Regions from separate parts of the Homo sapiens genome. Here region 1 is linked to region 2. Evidence: promoter capture Hi-C in 16 types of primary human blood cells and fetal thymus (Javierre and others, 2016). All regions are on one chromosome and are shown on one strand. The core of a region is centred on a gene start or on the middle of the fragment in contact, and the rest is flanking DNA. Distances in the headings are between cores, read along the strand shown. Region 1 has its middle 17 kb from the start of SYT8. Region 2 holds the start of FAM99B (family with sequence similarity 99 member B).

Region 1 (4,793 bases), core at 2,245-4,744, 130 kb after region 2:
TCTGAGAATACTCCAGGATGACAAGGTGGGGAGATGTGGAGCTGCAAGAAGTGCTAGCATGTTCCTCGGGAATGAGGAGATCTCAGAGTCATGAGGGCTTAACCCACATTGTAGTGGGCCCAGGAATGGGACTAACTTCTGGATAAACTCAGGGAGAATGCACCAGAAGACAGCAGCCCACAGAGCTGCCTTGCCACGCATTCCCGGGATGAAGGCAGCTGAGGCAGGAGCTCTAGGCTGGCTAAGAACACAGGTGTCATCCAGGACCACTTGATGTCAGCTGGGGCCACCCAAACTGCCTCAAAACCTACAAACGGTGGCTGTGTTGGCCATGCATGGGGCACCCCATGTAAGAGCAAATGGCGCAGGTGACCCACCTGTTGGAGTGGGTCTGGTTGGACAAACCAAGGGGTGTCCACGCTGGGGAGCCTCTGTGGCTGACAGTGGGTGAGAGGCTCTGGGCAAAGCTGTGGCTGGTCTCCCAGACCCGTGTCTGGGGCACTCAACATGGGGCAGACCAGATGGGGATTAACACACTGTCGTTTACTAAGAAAGGTTTTGGGGTGTGAATAAATATCTTTTAAAAGATGGAACTGTCAATCAAAGCTTGCAAAAAGAGACCGGGCGCCATGGCTCATGCCTGTAATCCCAGCACTTCGGGAGGATGAGGCGGGCAGATCACATGAGGCTAGGAGTTTGAGACCAGCCTGGGCAACATGGCGAAATCCCGTCTCTACTAAAAATACAAAAATTAGCCAGGTGAGGTGGTGGGCGCCTGCAGCCCCACCTACTCAGGAGGCTGAGGCAGGAGAACGACTTGAACCCAGGAGGCGGAGGTTGCAGTGAGCCGAGATCACACCACTGCACTCCAGCCTGGGCAATACAGCAAGACTCTGTCTCAAAAAAATAAAAATAAAGCTTGCAAAAAGGGGCAAGGGGCACCTGAAAGAGACAGCAACCAGGATGCTGAGCAACCTGCCTGTGCCCTGTAGTTTTTTCAGTCATAAAACAGTTCACATAAAACAGTTCACAGTCATAAAACGGTTCAGATAAACGTATGCACTCCAAGAAGTCAAGAAAGAAACTTAAAATCCTGTAGGTAAATTAGAAATATCAGTATGATTCCATGATATATTTACCTTTAAAAATATATATTTCCAGCTGGGCCACAGTGGCTCACTCCTGTAATCCCAGCACTTTGAGACGCCTAGGCGGGTGGATCACTTGAGGTCAGGGGTTCAAGACTAGCCTGGCCAACATGGTGAAACTCTGTCTCTACTAAAAATACAAACATTAGTTGGGCATGGTGGTGCATGCCTGTAATCCCAGCTACTCAGGAGGCTGAGGCAGGAGAATTGCTTGAACCCAGGAGGTGGAGGTTGTAGTGAGCTGGGATCATGCCACTGCACTCCAGCCTGGGTGACAGAGCAAGACTTTATCTTAAAAAAACAAAACAAAAAAAAGTTATTTCCTAAGCCAGTCAAAAAAAGAAAAAAGAAAAGACAAATACTGTATGATTCTATTTGTATGAGGTCCCTAGAGTAGTCAAATTTATAGTGACAGAAAGTAGGATGGCGAGTGCCAGGGGCTGGGGGAGGTGGAGGGGGAGTTGGATTTAATGGGAGCAGAGCTGCTGCTTTTCGAGACAAAAGGCATTCTGGAGCTGGATAGTGGGATGACAGCAGCGCGAATGTACTGAATGCCACGGAACTGTGCACTTAGAAGATGGTAAATTTTGTTACACATATTTTACCACCATACAAAAACTGGAAAAATAGGTCTTGCCTAATTCTGTCCACAGTAAAAGCTTAGAAACAATGAAAATAGACTAGTAGCAATGAGCACCCTGGCACCCAAAGTGGGACCTCTAAATACCCACCAAACTCCCTTCAAAAAGAACCGTGAACCCTTGGAGAAATGACTGGTTCTGGGCTGAGCCATGACATAGCCATGACATAAGATAAACCTGGAACTTCTCATTGCATCAGAAAGCTAAGAAACAATCAAAGACTACTGAGGTCATTTCAAGATGACATACCAGTCAACTTAAATGTATCCCCATTGACCAAATGTGGGACCACATGGTCACCAGTAAAGACAATAAGTTCAATGAATGGAAGGGCATTGTGTCAGGCACACCCTAATGCGGCCTCCAGTGAGTAATGGCCTTATTTAATCCCCTGCCCTGAGGCAGGGCAGAATCTGTGATTTTTCTTTGACTGAGAGATTAAAGCAAAAGTGAAGAGACTTTGCAGATATAATTAAGTTCCTAACCAGTTGACTTTGAGTTAATCAAAAGGAGATTTTTCTCAGTGGTCCTGACTTAACAGGCAAGCCCTTTGTAAGAGAGTCTAGGGCTTCTCTGAAGTTAGAGACTCGAAGGGGCAGAGACCCTCTCTCTCTGTTGCTGGCTTTGAAGGAGGAAGCTGCCATGAATTCTGCAACTTCATGGAAATAAGTTCTGCCAAAACCTAAATGAGCCTGGAAGCTGCTCCCTCCCTAGTTGGGTCTCCAGATGAGAACACAGCCTGGCTGACAGCTTGATCTCAAGCTAGTGAGACCCTGAGTGAGGAATCTGGCTAAGCTATACCAGGACATCTGGCATACAGAAGTGCATATACTAAATGGGAGCTTTATGTTTGTGGCAATTTGTTCCACAGCCATTGAGAATTACTGCACACATTCAATACAGTACATTTAAGTAATATACTTCAATTTATGATTTCACAATAATATATATTTAAAATAATCAATATTTTTCTCTGCCTTCCCTGTACCAAATATTTGATGTGGGAAAGTGTATCTTTAGAAGAACTCTTGCAAATAAATGCTGAAGAAATACCAAGTTTAGAAAATTGCAATTTTGCAACCCCTAATGAAATGATGGATCTAGGGCAGTGGTCCTCAACTGGGGGCAGTTTTGCCCCTCTGGCAATATCTACAGGTATTTTTGATTGTTGTAACTGAGAGTTGCTGTAGGGATCAGGGATGCTGACAAATATCCTAAAGTGCACAGGACAGCCCCACAGCAAACATTATCTGGCTGGGTTAGAAAGACCCTAAGGTGAACCACAGTGATTTCTGCTTCCTGTTGGCTGTGCTTCTGTGTTGTCCCCTCTCCTTGAAAGTGTTAACCAACAGAATATGGCAAAGGTGGTAGATGTCACACCTGGGATTATATTATAGTATATAATATTCTGGAGTCACTCTCTCTGTCTCCTGCTGGCCTTGAAGAAGCAAGAGCCATGTGTGAACTGCCTTTGAGGGGCCCACAAGACTGGGAACTATGGGTGGCCTGCAGGAAGTGAGGACCTCAGTGCTACAACCACAAGGACCTGAATTCTACCAACAAGCTAAGTGAATGCAAAGCAGGCCCTGTCCCAGTTGGACCTTCAGATGAGAATGCAGCCCCAGCTGACACCATGGGATCCTGAGGTAGAGAACCCAGCTAAGTTGTGCCCCAGGCTTCTACCCACAAAAACTGTGAGATAAGAAACATGTGTTGTTCTAAGCCACTAAGTTTGTGGCAATTTGTTCCACACCATAGAAAACTAACAGCCTGGCCCCAAATGCCCACAATGCCAAGACTGAGAAACCTAACTTAGGGCTTGTTGTTGTGGTTGTTTTCTACAAGGGCTGAGTTGCAAACACATCTGTCTTTGCAGGCCATTTGCTCTCTGTCATTGTGTCTGTTTTTTATCACTGTGTAATAAATCACCACAAACCCAGCTGTGAAACAAATCCTGTGCATCCTGTGGAACAGAGCTCTGGGCATTCCTGTAGGGCTTTTTCCTTAGGTCCTCACTGGCTGAGAGCAGATGCCAGCCAGGCTGGGCTCCTCTCTGGAGGTGCTGGGGAAGACTCCACTCTCGGGGCATTCACGGTGTGGACACAATTCGGTTCTTGTGTTTGTAGGTCCCCATCTTCCTGCTGGCTGTAGGCAGGGTGACTCTCTGCAGGAGGTCGTGCTCAGTCCTTTCCCCTGGTTCATGGAGAGCCTTCCTCGAGGAGAATCACTGTGAATCCCTCTCAATTTCTCTCCTACCACCAGCTGGGGGGTAAAAAAAACAACCCAAACTCTGCTTTTACAGGGCTCATGGGATTCAACCAGGCCCACCGTGATCCTCTCTCTATTTTAAAGTCAACTCATCAGCAGCCTAAACTTTATCCGCAAAATGCCTTTTGCCAGACAACATAACACACTCACAAGGGTGAGAATTATTCACAATTCTGGGAATCACGGCACAAAGTCTGGGGGGACCTTCTTGGAATCACCACAGCCATGGTACCATGAAAGCAGTCACAGATGGTACATAAGTGAATGAGTGGGGGCCATGTTCCAATAAAACTTTATTTACAAAAACAGATGGGGAATAAGATTTGGCCGGGGGCGACTGTAGTTTGCTGACCCCTGTTCTAGGAAATGTCACCAGCAGCTGCTAAAACCATGAAAAGAAAAGCCACTGGGCACTTAGTGGCTTATGGCTGTAGCTGGCTACACCCAAACCTACTCACTGATCAGCCCCATATCCCAGGAGGAAGTTCCAGGACATCCAGTGCCTCCCGCCATGCACAAAGGAAGTGCCATCTCCCTCCATGAAGCGGCCTTGCCAAAAGGCTTGACCTTACACTGATCAGGCCTCAGCACTATAGAGTAAGGAAAGACACCTGAAACGCTGTGTTGCGACTTGTGAAACCCAGAATGTTGGGAACTCCTTAGGATGAGCGCCCTTGCTTCTTCAACAAATAAGTGGCAAGAATGAAAAGACAGAGGCACTAATTGATCAAAGGGG
Region 2 (4,585 bases), core at 124-2,623:
CGCGGGGACAGTGGACTCATCAGGATGCCGGGACCCTCTAGTGTGTTCTGGAAGCAGAGGCTGGGTGTGGGCACGGGAACCTGTGATTGTCCCCAGACACCGAGAGGCCCACAGGACCCCCAGTGCCCAGACCCCGGCTGCAGATCGGGGGGTCCAGTCATGTGTCGGGGAAGGAGGAGGGGAGCAGGGGCCACAGACAGGGGGTCCAGGAGGGCAGGGGGTCCAGGAGGGCAGAGGACCCAGGACAGCAAAGGGTCCGGGAGGGCAGAGGATCCAGGAGGACAGGGGGTCCAGGAGGGCAGGGGGTCCAGGAGGGCCCAGGAGGGCAGGGGGTCCAGGAGGACAGGGGGTCCTGGAGGGCAGGGGGTCCAGGAGGGCAGGGGGTCCAGGAGGGCAGAGGGTCCAGGAGGGCAGAGGGTCCAGGAGGGCCCAGGAGGGCAGGGGGTCCAGGAGGACAGGGGGTCCTGGAGGGCAGGGGGTCCAGGAGGGCAGGGGGTCCAGGAGGGCAGAGGGTCCAGGAGGGCCCAGGAGGGCAGGGGGTCCAGGAGGACAGGGGGTCCTGGAGGGCAGGGGGTCCCGGAGGGCAGAGGGTCCTGGAGGGCAGGGGGTCCCGGAGGGCAGAGGGTCCTGGAGGGCAGGGGGTCCAGGAGGGCAGGGGGTCCAGGAGGGCAGAGGGTCCTGGAGGGCAGGGGGTCCAGGAGGGCAGGGGGTCCAGGAGGGCCCAGGAGGGAAGGGGGTCCAGGAGGACAGGGGGTCCAGGAGGGCAGAGCCACAGCAGGCTGGGTGCTGCTGCTACAGGGGGCTTCACCCCAGCAGCCCCCTGCACTGCCCCTCTGACAGCCTCCACCTTTGACCCCCCAGAACAATGGGCTGCTGTGGCGGCTCTGGAGGCTGCGGCCCCAGTCATGGGGCCTGCGGCTGCCATGGGCTGAGACCCTGCTGCTCTTCGTGGAGACACTGATGTCCTTACCAGATCTCCCGGGCCCGCCCTCAGCCTCCAGGCTGACCAGGCTTCCTGGGCCTCCTAGGACACAGCCCTGGGTCTCCTCCTCTAGGATACTGGATGGGAATCTGCGGCTTCCAACATCCACCTGCCCGCCTTCCCCTCTGCCCTGTCCCCTTGCTGCCATGGCCGCCTTTGTCCTCCCTGGAGATTCAGAGAGCAGCCCCGTTCTCAGTTACCTGGCCTTCTGGGTCCTTGGGAGGTTCTGACCTCTTCCCAGCAGGGGCCCTGGGGGCTGCGTCCTGCCTGGTCCAGGCCTTCTCACCCTCACCTCCCTCTGGGCTCAGGGAGCTGGGGCCACACAGCCCAGAGAGGCTGGTCTGCCCAGGACAGGCCACCCTCCTCCTGCTCCCAGGAGTGCCTGCAGCCCTGTCAGTTTCCAAGAGTGTCTCCTTCAAGCAGCCTCGTCAGGTCGAGCCACCCCCAGTGCCCTCTCTCCTCTGGCAGCCGCGCTCCCTGCCCTTCCTCCCCACCTGCTCAGTCCTGCAAAGCCTCCTGCCTAGCTGGACACCTGGGGGTTCTGTATCCCACACTCCAGGGGCCTCCTTCACATGTCGGTGACCTCTGACACTCCAGGGGCCTCCTTCACATGTCGGTGACCTCTGACCGCTGTTTCAGACCCACAGCTCCTGGGTGCACTCAGCCTTGGGTCCCGATGGCACCAGAGTGTTCCACGCCTGGGGCAGCGCACTCATTGCAGATCTGGCCTGAGACTCAGCAGCCGGGCACCCCATGAGATCTACTTTCTGAATGGCGTCGTCACCTGACTGGGCATACAGGCCACGGACCCCATGGTCATTTGGGCACTGACCCCTCTCACACCCCCCAAATCCCACCTGAGAGCAGCCCATCAGGCAGGCCCCATATATTGGATGCCTCTAAGTATCAGCCTTGATGTCCCTCTAATTCCAGCCCTGGTGTCTTCTCCCTGGGACACCCTGCTGCTCCCTCTAGCTGTGCCCTCCACGGTGACTCCAGACATGCGGATTCAGCCTCTTCGCTCCAGGACCAAACTCCTCAGCAGCTCCCACTACTCCCAGCATGCCATCCAGCTCCTCAGCCCAGCAGCAAAGACAGGCACAGAATGGCTCCCGAACCCATCGCTCCGGTCCGGAGAAGGAGCCCTCCACCCTCCACGCTCCATTCGCTGTCCCCTTGCGGGCCCCTGTGAGGAACCCCAGCCAGAGGCACCAATGGCCGCCACTGACTTTCACCCTGTCCTGAATCACAGGACCAAGGAGGCTGCCCCGACAAGGGTCGCTTCCAGACTCACTCCCTGTCAGCCACTGCCACATGCCTGCCGTGGGCAGCATTGGAGGACAGGGGGTACTCTGTCAGTCAGCCTAACAGGCTGGTCCGTCCTTCCTTCCTTCCTTCCTTCTTCCCTCCCTCACTTCCTTCCTTCTTCCCTCCCTGCCTCCCTCCCTTCCTTCTCTGCTCCCTCCCTCCCTCCTCCCTCCCCCTCCTTCCCTGCCTCCCTCCTCCCTCCTTCTCTGCCTCCTTCCTCCCCCTTCCCTTCCTTCCTTCCTTCTCTGCTCCCCCCCTCCCTCTTTCCCTCCCTCCCTCTTTCCCTCCCTTCCTCCTCCCTCCTCCTCCCTCCCTCCCTTCCTTCCTTCTTTCTTTCCTTCCTTCCTTCCTGCTTCTCTCCCTTCCTCCCTCCCTCACTTCCTTCCTTCCTTCTTCCCTCCCTGCCTCCCTCCCTTCCTTCTCTGCTCCCTCCCTCCCCCCTTCCCTGCCTCCCTCTTCCCTCCTTCTTTGCCTCCTCCCTCCCCCTTCCCTTCCTTCCTTCCTTCTCTGCTACCTCCCTCCCTCCTCCCTCCCCCCTCCCTTCCTTCCTTCCTCTCTGGTCAAATGCGGGTACATGAGAGTTCCCACCATCCCCATGGTAAGTGCACAGTTCCGTGGCATTGGGAACCTGCACGTGGCTGTGCCACTGTCGCCACCATGCAGCTCCAGCACCTTTTCATCGCGCGAAACTGGAGCTCCGTCCTGACTAATCACTCACTCCCATCGGCCTCTGTCACTGGCCCTGCTGACTACCATTCTGCCATCTTCCTCTTGAATCTGACTCCTCTGGGGGCCTTCCATCTGTGGGGTCACAGCATTGGTCCTATTGTGACTGGCTGGCTTCACTCGGCACGAGGCTGTGAAGGTTGGTGGCGTTGCTGCAGGCGTCAGAGCACACTCCTTTTCCAGGCTCCGTAAGACCCCGATGTGTTTGTCTACCCCATTTCAGATCCCCTCACCTGCTGGGTTGTTTCCACCTTTGGGCTATTGTGACTGCACGGCTGTGAGCATGGGTGTCTGAGTCCATTCTGTGTAGCCATAAAAGAACCTCTGTGATGGGGTAATTCATCAAGCTCACAGTTCTGCTGGCTGAGAAGTTCAATGGCATGGCCCTGGCTTCTGCTGGAGGAGGTCAAAGGGGAAGCAGACACGGGAAGAGAGATAAAGCTCAGGGATGTCTTGGCTTCAGAACAAGCCCCACTCATGGGAACAAATCCATTCCCATGGGAACTCACCCTGTATCACAAGAGGAGAATCACTCCCAGCACCACGGACTCCCCAGGGAGTCACTCCCACGACCCACACGTCTCCCTCCCCTCAGGCCCCACCTCCCTACGCTGCCACACTGGGGGTCCCGTTTCAACAAGAGTTTTGCTGGGAACAGATGCACTGACTACATCCAGGTCGTGGTAAGGGCTGTGCAAGTATTTGAGTCCCTGCTTTGATTTCTTTTGGGGATAGACCTAGGAATGGAATGGCGGCTTCGCAGGGTAATTTTGTGTTTACCTGTTTCTGGAAGGAGCACACTGAGCTGGCCAGAGCAGGCTTGTGTTTTCCTCTGTGCTCCTTCCTGCTTCCCAGGATGCAGATGAGATGGCAGGTGCCCCAGCAGCCCTCGCCAACCATAAGGCATGGATTCCTCACCTTCGGCTCGGGGAGCACAGAGACTGAGGGCCGTGGACTCGGGGTGAGATGGTGGCACCTCCATCACAGACCCACAGTCTCTGTGTCCAGCCCTTCCGGAAAGATGACAGAAATGAAAAGTCTGCCTTATGGAAGACAAGGTTATTCAGAATTTTCGGTTCTGTATGGTCTCCTTAGAAACATTAGCAGACTTTAAAAAATGAAAATAGCCCATGTTCATTGTGAAAAAGTGAGCCATGGCCTCCGGGGCACCGGAGCCACAGAGCCACCACGCTTTGCTTTTGTTTCTCACTCCCCTACTCTCCCCACATAGGCACCGACGCTTTCCCTGACAGCATCATCATCACCCAACTAGGGCAGCTGACCCGCGTCTTCCTCACGACGTGGAATGGTTTGAGTCAAGGGTTTTCATGGCCATGAGCCACGTGGAGGCTGTGCCTTTTGTTTCCTGTGAGAAATCTTCAACCAGCGCCACTCTCAGCCTCCCCTCTGCCAGCGCTTCTGTGGCTGCACCTGCATTCGTGGGCTGTGGCTGCGAAGCACAGGAATAATTGATGGCTCTGGGGCACTTTGCTGGGCTGCTTCCAGAAAAGTTGACCCCTCCCTGCAAACCAGCACTGCCCAGCATTCTTGTCCCGCCAAGCCTGACTG

Evidence for each region. The method cuts DNA at HindIII sites, captures the fragments that hold promoters and counts their contacts. A CHiCAGO score of 5 or more calls a contact.
Region 1: a fragment that was not itself captured here is called in contact with the fragment with the promoter of FAM99B in region 2 in 7 of 17 cell types (naive CD4 T cells, fetal thymus, total CD4 T cells and 4 more); the score reaches 7.0 in naive CD4 T cells.

Annotation. Positions count from the first base shown.
Region 1 is chr11:1,815,574-1,820,366 of GRCh38, forward strand. No RefSeq gene overlaps it. Among named protein-coding and RNA genes, the nearest start is that of SYT8, 17 kb to the right of the region's middle. The HindIII fragment of the contact is 3,378 bases long and covers 1,806-4,793 here.
Region 2 is chr11:1,684,256-1,688,840 of GRCh38, forward strand. It overlaps FAM99B (family with sequence similarity 99 member B), which reads right to left and starts at 1,374. Exons shown (of 3, transcript NR_026642.1): 1 at 1,183-1,374; 2 at 1-47. It overlaps LINC02708 (long intergenic non-protein coding RNA 2708), which reads left to right and starts at 3,375. Exons shown (of 3, transcript NR_187232.1): 1 at 3,375-3,699; 2 at 3,810-4,074; 3 at 4,248-4,585. RefSeq lists an enhancer at 710-1,479. The HindIII fragment of the contact is 16,209 bases long and covers 1-4,585 here.